Linked DNA regions of Homo sapiens: region 2 is linked to region 1. Evidence: promoter capture Hi-C in 16 types of primary human blood cells and fetal thymus (Javierre and others, 2016). All regions are on one chromosome and are shown on one strand. Each heading gives the region's core, a stretch centred on a gene start or on the middle of the fragment in contact. The rest is flanking DNA. Distances are from core to core; before and after follow the strand shown. Region 1 holds the start of BCL2 (BCL2 apoptosis regulator). Region 2 has its middle 210 kb from the start of BCL2.

Evidence for each region. Contacts are between HindIII fragments. The CHiCAGO score rates a contact against its expected background, and 5 or more counts as called.
Region 2: a fragment that was not itself captured here is called in contact with the fragment with the promoter of BCL2 in region 1 in 16 of 17 cell types (activated CD4 T cells, total CD8 T cells, total CD4 T cells and 13 more); the score reaches 23.7 in activated CD4 T cells.

The regions. Positions count from the first base shown.
Region 1 is chr18:63,317,543-63,321,506 of GRCh38, forward strand. BCL2 (BCL2 apoptosis regulator) reads right to left here and starts at 2,227. Exons shown (of 3, transcript NM_000633.3): 1 at 1,632-2,227; 2 at 540-1,410. The coding sequence starts at 1,124. RefSeq lists silencers at 849-1,088, 2,444-2,633, 2,794-3,003, 3,034-3,103. The HindIII fragment of the contact is 7,545 bases long and covers 1-3,964 here.
Region 2 is chr18:63,111,247-63,115,210 of GRCh38, forward strand. No RefSeq gene overlaps it. Among named protein-coding and RNA genes, the nearest start is that of BCL2, 210 kb to the right of the region's middle. The HindIII fragment of the contact is 1,364 bases long and covers 1,386-2,749 here.

The DNA.
Region 1 (3,964 bases), core at 977-3,476:
TTTTGGAAAATTTTACCGATTGATGATGCCCTTGGTCTTCTGTGGAGTCTATTCTTCTAATCGGGTTGTTCTCCAATTTTAGTGTACAACGGGCTTGTTTCAGGGGAGCTTGTTTGGGATGCAGACTGTCAAGACCCAACCTGGTATCTGGTTCATAAGCAGTCCCTGAAACCTCCCTCCGGTTCCAACAAGCTGCTCAAGCCAGGAAACGGTGGTCCTGGGGACTCCTGGACCTTCAGCTTGAGAAACACTGAAGGGGTACCATTTACCACCACATCCTACTGGATTACAAACGCTAGATCTTTGGATCTCCACGACTAGCAAGCAAGTTAAAGACTTTTAGATGGCAGGCGTTATCGGTCAGGTTGGGAGTGAACGCTTTGTCCAGAGGAGGAGGTAGGGACGCCGGGAAGCAACAACTCTGATTTTATTTCGCCGGCTCCACAGCCTCCCATTGCCCCAGGAGCCCACCCGCACTCCAACCCCCGCATCTCGGACCTGTGGCCTCAGCCCAGACTCACATCACCAAGTGCACCTACCCAGCCTCCGTTATCCTGGATCCAGGTGTGCAGGTGCCGGTTCAGGTACTCAGTCATCCACAGGGCGATGTTGTCCACCAGGGGCGACATCTCCCGGTTGACGCTCTCCACACACATGACCCCACCGAACTCAAAGAAGGCCACAATCCTCCCCCAGTTCACCCCGTCCCTGAAGAGCTCCTCCACCACCGTGGCAAAGCGTCCCCGCGCGGTGAAGGGCGTCAGGTGCAGCTGGCTGGACATCTCGGCGAAGTCGCGGCGGTAGCGGCGGGAGAAGTCGTCGCCGGCCTGGCGGAGGGTCAGGTGGACCACAGGTGGCACCGGGCTGAGCGCAGGCCCCGCGGCGGCGCCGGGGGCAGCCGGGGTCTGCAGCGGCGAGGTCCTGGCGACCGGGTCCCGGGATGCGGCTGGATGGGGCGTGTGCCCGGGCTGGGAGGAGAAGATGCCCGGTGCGGGGGCGGCCCCCGGGGGCGCGGCGCCCACATCTCCCGCATCCCACTCGTAGCCCCTCTGCGACAGCTTATAATGGATGTACTTCATCACTATCTCCCGGTTATCGTACCCTGTTCTCCCAGCGTGCGCCATCCTTCCCAGAGGAAAAGCAACGGGGGCCAACGGCACCTCTCGCCCCAGCTCCCACCCCACGGCCCCCAGAGAAAGAAGAGGAGTTATAATCCAGCTATTTTATTGGATGTGCTTTGCATTCTTGGACGAGGGGGTGTCTTCAATCACGCGGAACACTTGATTCTGGTGTTTCCCCCTTGGCATGAGATGCAGGAAATTTTTATTCCAATTCCTTTCGGATCTTTATTTCATGAGGCACGTTATTATTAGTAAGTATTGTTAATATCAGTCTACTTCCTCTGTGATGCTGAAAGGTTAAAGAAAAAACAAACTAATAAGTAAAAAATCAGGTGCGTTTCCCTGTACACACTGAGTGAAAGCAGGGCATACACACTACAAGTAACACGGCTAAAAAGAATGTATTAAGCTGCCTGGAAATTAAATTTACTCGAATGCACTTTAAGTAAAAAATCTCAAAGGTTTCCATTGAAAGTTACATTAAACCAATTTCCTGTGCAGAGAACTTACTTGTATTTTTTAAGTACAGCATGATCCTCTGTCAAGTTTCCTTTTTGTAAAACCAAAACAAATGCATAAGGCAACGATCCCATCAATCTTCAGCACTCTCCAGTTATAGCTGATTTGAAACTTCCCAATGAATCAGGAGTCGCGGGGAGAGGGAGTAAAAATTAGGAGGATTTCCAGATCGATTCCCAGACTTCTGCTTCACAGAAATGTCAATCCGCAGGAATCCCAACCGGAGATCTCAAGAGCTCGAGAAAAAAAAAAGGCAGCGGCGGCGGCAGATGAATTACAATTTTCAGTCCGGTATTCGCAGAAGTCCTGTGATGTTTTCCCCTTCTCGGCAATTTACACGCGCGCACACACGCGCGGGCACAGGCATGAATCTCTATCCACGGGACCGCTTCACGCCTCCCCAGGAGAGAGACAGGGGAGAGGGGACGATGAAGGAGCCGGGGACGGAGGCAGGAATCCTCTTCTGATTAAACTCCGAACAGCAAATGCATTTTCCGAAAAGCTGCTGGATAAATGAAGGCAGGACGCGCCTGGCCCGCCGGTGCCGAGCGCTAGAAGCCCGCGCTGTGTGTGGTGCGGCGAGGGGTGGGGAGAAGGAGGTGGTGGGGGAGGGTTTTATTTTTTCCCTCTTTTCCTAAAAAGGATGACTGCTACGAAGTTCTCCCCCCTGGACCCCCTCTTCCGCTGCACCCCACCGGCGCACCCCGCCTCCGGGCTGCGCACCCTTTCTCCTCCTCCTGGTCCTGCGCGGCGGCGCTGGCTACGGCCGCCTCCCGGAGCTCCCGCCGCGCAGCCCGCTCCGAGCGCTGACGGCCGCCGGCAGGGAGGGCCCGGAGCCCCGGCACCTTCGCTGGCAGCGGCGGCGGCGGCAGCGCGGCGGGGCCACGGAGAGCGGCGGGCGGGAGCGCGGCGGGCGGGCGGGCAGGCGGCGCGGAGGGGCGGGCGCGGGAGGAAGGGGGCGGGAGCGGGGCTGTGGTGCCTGTCCTCTTACTTCATTCTCTGCACAGCCCGACCGGTTTCCTGTGCGTAACGTCACACGGTTCATTCAAAAAAAGAAGAAAGAAAGAGCCCTCCTCTGAGCCACCCGACCGCCCCCTCCGCCCCGCTCCCTGGCCCGGGTTAAAGGCGCCGCGGCAGGCCCGGGAGTGGCGCGTCCCGCCGGGGGCACATGGCGCGCGGGGCCGCGGCCGGGGAGGGCGCGTCCGGGCCGGCCACCCGCCCGCTCCGCTGCGCCCGCGGGGCCCGGCCAGTGGGTGGCGCGGGCGGCACAGGCCTCCCGCGCGGCCGCGGCGCGGTGGGTGTGCGCGGGGCCTTCTGCTCAGGCCTGCGGCAGGCCGCGTGCGGACTTGGTGGTCGCTGGGGTCCGCGACGGGGTGGGGGCTCCCGGGGAACCGCACGCGGCCGGGCCGGGCGGACGACGGAGTGCGGAGGGGGGCGGCTGGCGGGAGGGTGCGCCATGAAAACAAGGGCTGGAAAAGCGCCGGGAACCGCCTGGACCCTTTCTGGCCGTGTGAGTGTGTGTGGAGTGTGTGTGTGTGTGTGTGTGTGTGTGTGTGTCTCGCCTGGACCTTTTCTAGCCGTGTATGTGGGAGTGTGTGTGTCGCCTGGACCCTTTCTAGCCGTGTATGAGAGTGTGTACACGCGCCTACACACACACACGTTGTGTTACCGGCGCTCGGCCGCCGGGGGAAGACCCAGGCCAATGCCGCCCCCCACCGCCCCCAGCAGTGGGACCTCAGCGCTGCCCTGCTGTGAAGACAGGTGACTCTGCACGTTTTAAGCAATGTCTAGGGACGCCCCGAGCGTGGTGTTTACTTTCAAGTAGCTTCCTAGGTGTCCGCGCACTACACACGCACGCGCATCCCCGCCCGTGTCCACCTGAACACCTAGTCCGTGGCCCAGGCCATGCAGAACTCAGCGCTCCAGGGAAGGGGTTTATCAAGGGCTTTACGACAGTTTAAGTCAATGTTTTCCCTCTGTCCCTAACACCTTTTACACTGGTTTAGTGCTACACGATGAGGACTTCCATATAGTAACTTTCAGGCCCACCGTCCTAACGCTGGGGTGGGTGGGCTCCTAAAGGTCTCCACCTTTGCCTCGTAGCCAATCCTAGTTGGCCGCACTTTCTCAAATGAGGTACATAGATACACACATACACATTCACACTCGCAGACGTGTGTACGCGCAAGCAGACAGTTTTAAATTAATCAGCATGAATAGCCCCTAGCAAAAAAGGACAAGAGGACAAACAAGTTGCACGTGTGTATTTTTATCTCCAAGAGTCTTTGACAAAGCACCAAGAAAAGAAAAAGGTCTTCTAGAAG
Region 2 (3,964 bases), core at 818-3,317, 210 kb before region 1:
ACATGGTAAAATTGACTTTGCAGTTGTGATTTAGTTAAGGATCTTGAGATGGGGGCAGAATTTTGGATTGTCTGGGTGGGCCCAACCTAACCCTAGAGTTGTTGTAAGAGAGAGGCAGATCAGAGTGAGAGTGAGGAAAGCAAAGGCTGGAGTGATGGGAGGAAGGGTCACCACCTACGGAATGTTGGGGGGCCTCTAGAAGCTGGAAAAGGCAAGGATACAATTCTCCCCTAGGGCCTCCAGAAGGGAGGCAGCTCTGTCTACAACTTGATTTTAGCCCAGTGAGACCTATAAAATGCAAAATAAAGGTACTCATCTCATAAGGCTGTTGCCACAGATTAAAGGAGACAATGTATCTGAAGCACTTAGCATAGTGTCTGCCACACACTAGGTGCTGGGTAAAAGGTAGATTATTTTATGCTTTTTTTTTAGAAATTATACGATCCGAGCCAGGGTTGGATTCCATCTGACTTAAAGCCCAACCACTACATTATAGTTAAAACAACTTGTAGTGGTTGGAAGTGGATGCAGTTCTTCCAAAGAATCCGTGGTAAAACATTTTAGGATTGCTGGAACTCAAGGAGATGCTTCCAAATTCTTTATCTCAGAAAACTTTTGGGACCCCAGCATCCCCTTTGGATAACCTGTTGCATCATCAGGCCTCCAGACATGAGGCTGAATTCCTGCATCTGAGTTCTGCACATCTTGGTGGTTTTTGCAGGATTGCATGTGCTCTTGAAGCACTGTCTCATATAATGTGGCAATGGAGACAAAAAAATGTCACCAAGGTGTGGCTATGGAGTGGGAGAGGAGGACTTAGAGGATGTCATTAGCAAATTGCTGGGTGGCTGCCAGGGTGTTGCAGAAGTCTGGTGACTTCATTTGATAATTTGCTGATCATTCAAGTTTATTCCTTTCTAGGTTCCTGTCATCCTCACTGGCTTTGTTTTGCAGCTGAGAGACTGAATATACAAATGGGCAATGGCCAGACCAGATATAAAAATAGAATTCAGACCCACAGTCTACAGCAGCCAGCCCAGGAAACCAGCTCATGACCTACTGTTACCGGCCCAGGAAACAGGTCTGCTATAAATCAGACTTGCAGGAAGTCAGATCACTGTCTGTAGAAACAACCCATGAAGCCAGACAATAACCTCTGTACAATTGCCCCCAAATGGCCAGGAGTTAATTAATAATGGACTGCTTCCTTGATTTTCTTCCCTGATTCCAATTTAGGACCAACCAGAGAAAGCCAATATGCACCTCTAATTATTCATGTAGGATGTCCTGCTTCTAATTAGCCCACCTCCATGTAGGCGCCCCCACCCTATGCCAACAACCTCCCATCAGGGTGAGCTCAAAGCCTTCCCTCTTTGCCATTTTAAAGCTTTCCCACTTATCTGTTTGCCTTTGATTCTCTGCCAAAATGCAAAAGATAGTGAGTGGCCGACTCCCTTAGTATATATAGCAAGCTCTGAATAAATAGCCTTTGCTTTTCTCATTTGGTTGGTCTGCATTTATTTCCACATGCCGTACAACTAGCACATGTGAATTTGGAGGTAAGGACACGTTCTACACTCTTGGACCCAGACAAATTTGGTCTCACGTGATTGGATCAGAGGGACAACACTTGTGGTCTCATGAAGCGCCAAGGCCTTCTTGGTTCCTGTCTTTGTGGCGTGTGGATGACTTCTCTAGGAGCAGGAGATGACTGTGATGGAATAGTGACTAAGTTCTATTTGAACTTGAATTAGTTATGGCACAAATGGGTGGAACATAAAAGAAGTAATTAGTAAAGGCAAATGGGAAAAGCCCAAAATTGGAATTTTGTTTTTAAATAACACTTGGGAGAGAACAAATTAGGAATGAAGACAACCTATTTCCCCATTCCCTGGCACACAGATCTCATTTTAAATAAAACAATAAGGAGGTAAGTTTTAAGTGGTGTCATAGGGAATGTTAGAAGCTAATGTTACTAATCTAAAAACTATCACTGCAAGGAAATATCCAGGTGGTTATGGGGCAGAGATATTGCAGGAAGTCTCTGCAGATATCTCAAATTGTTGGTCTTTGAAAAAAAGGTCCACATGTGATGCTCTCTGCAGTGTCATTGTCAAGATCATAACTAAGTTTATTGTAAGCCATTATCAAGATGCATTCTCATGTTGTGTACCTGGCTCCAAGGACCACAGTTGATTATTATCTTGGGGGACGTTTATTATTCCCTCTCTGTCTTTGTAAATAAAAATGACAAGTCAAAGTTTGGTAGTAGTTGAGAAAATTGTTGACGTGTAATTACAGGAATTTGCTTCTTTGGTTCAGTTTGTTACTTTGAATCTTTACACTGTCTGCGTAGCTATTGTGGATTTATTATTTTCTGTAGCTGCACAGAAAATAATGTTTTAATGGTTTTTCATAATAAATAATATTATTTTCCATTTTATGTGGCATGAAAACTCTTTCACATTCATCACTTTGATCTCCCTGACTCCACTACCCCGTATGAGGCTGGTAGAATATGGTGGGACAAGTGTCACAACCCATTGAACTGATGATCAAAGATGCAAAGAGGCCACATGTTTTGCCCAAAGTCGTGCACTTAGCAAGCCAGAATTCAAACCCTGACCTGATATCAAGAGTTTACTGCCTGTCAAGAGGACTTGCAATCCTTCCACTGGACACATTTCAGATTTAGTTTCCCCTTTGAACTGATAACAACTGTTTCAAAAGTAAGAACCTTTTTGGATTAAGCTTGAAAAAGGAGAATTGAGGGAGTTGGAGAAGATGTTTTCCTGTTTTAACAACTTAATTAACAAGTATGGGGTGAGGTGGGGAGCAGCGGGGGCCTGAAGAGGAAGTCGTTTTGCAGACACATCACTTGTGCATGAGATGTCAAATATCTGTACACAGGGTCTGGTCCGGTGCTATGGTCCAGCATGGTGGCCACCAGCCACATGTGGCTCTTGAGCACTTGAAATGTGGCTCACTCACACTGAGATATGCTGCCACTGTCAATTCCACATTGACTTCAAAGCCTTAGTATGAAAAAAAAAAAATAGCCTATTGTGGTGTTATGATAGGTACTGGTTTTCCTCCGTGGTTCCTGGCTTGTGACTCGCATAGCCTTTGTTACCATCTTTTATTATGATGTTGGGTGTGTTAAGTCTCTGACCTACTTCTGCCCCTTTTCACCTGCCCCAGGGCAGGACTCTACTGCTTTTCTGATTGAGGTTCTTTTCTTTTTTTCAGGCTTAATTCACTTTATTTTTCTTGTATAAAAACCCTATGTTGTAGCCACAGCTGGAGCCTAGGTCCACTGCACAGAGACTCCGTGCAGCTGATTGAGGTCCTTAAGACCTTCCTATGAGTGGTTCCTACCCTGTGCCCTGGGGAAAGGAATGCTGACATCATGAAGCTTCCATAAAAACCCAGCGGACAGGGTTCAAGGAGCCTCCAGACAGCTGAACATGCTGAGGTTCCTGGAGGGTGGCACCGAGGGAGGGCGTAGAAGCTCCACACCCTGTCCCCCATTCCTCATCCCACGTGTCTCTTCATCTGTATCCTTTGCAATATCTTTTACCATAAACCGGTAAACATAAGTAAGTACTTCCCTGAGTTCTGTGAGCTGCTCCAGCAAATTCACTGAAGCCAAAGAGGGGGCTCTGGGGACCCCAACTTGAAGCTTGTTGGTCAGCAGTTCCAAAGGCCTGGACTTCTGACTGGTGTGGTCGGAGGCAGTCTTGGGGACTGAGCCCTCAACCTGTGGGATCTGACAAGGTCTCCAGGTAGACAGTGTTGGAACTGAATTAGAGGACAGCCAGCTAGTGTTCCCTGCTTGGTGTGTGGGGAAAAATACCCATACATTAGGTCACAGAAGTCTTCTGTGTTGATGATTGTTGTGGTATGATGGTAGAGGAAAGACACAGTTTGAGAGTTTTCCCTACATGCCTATCTCAAAATTTTT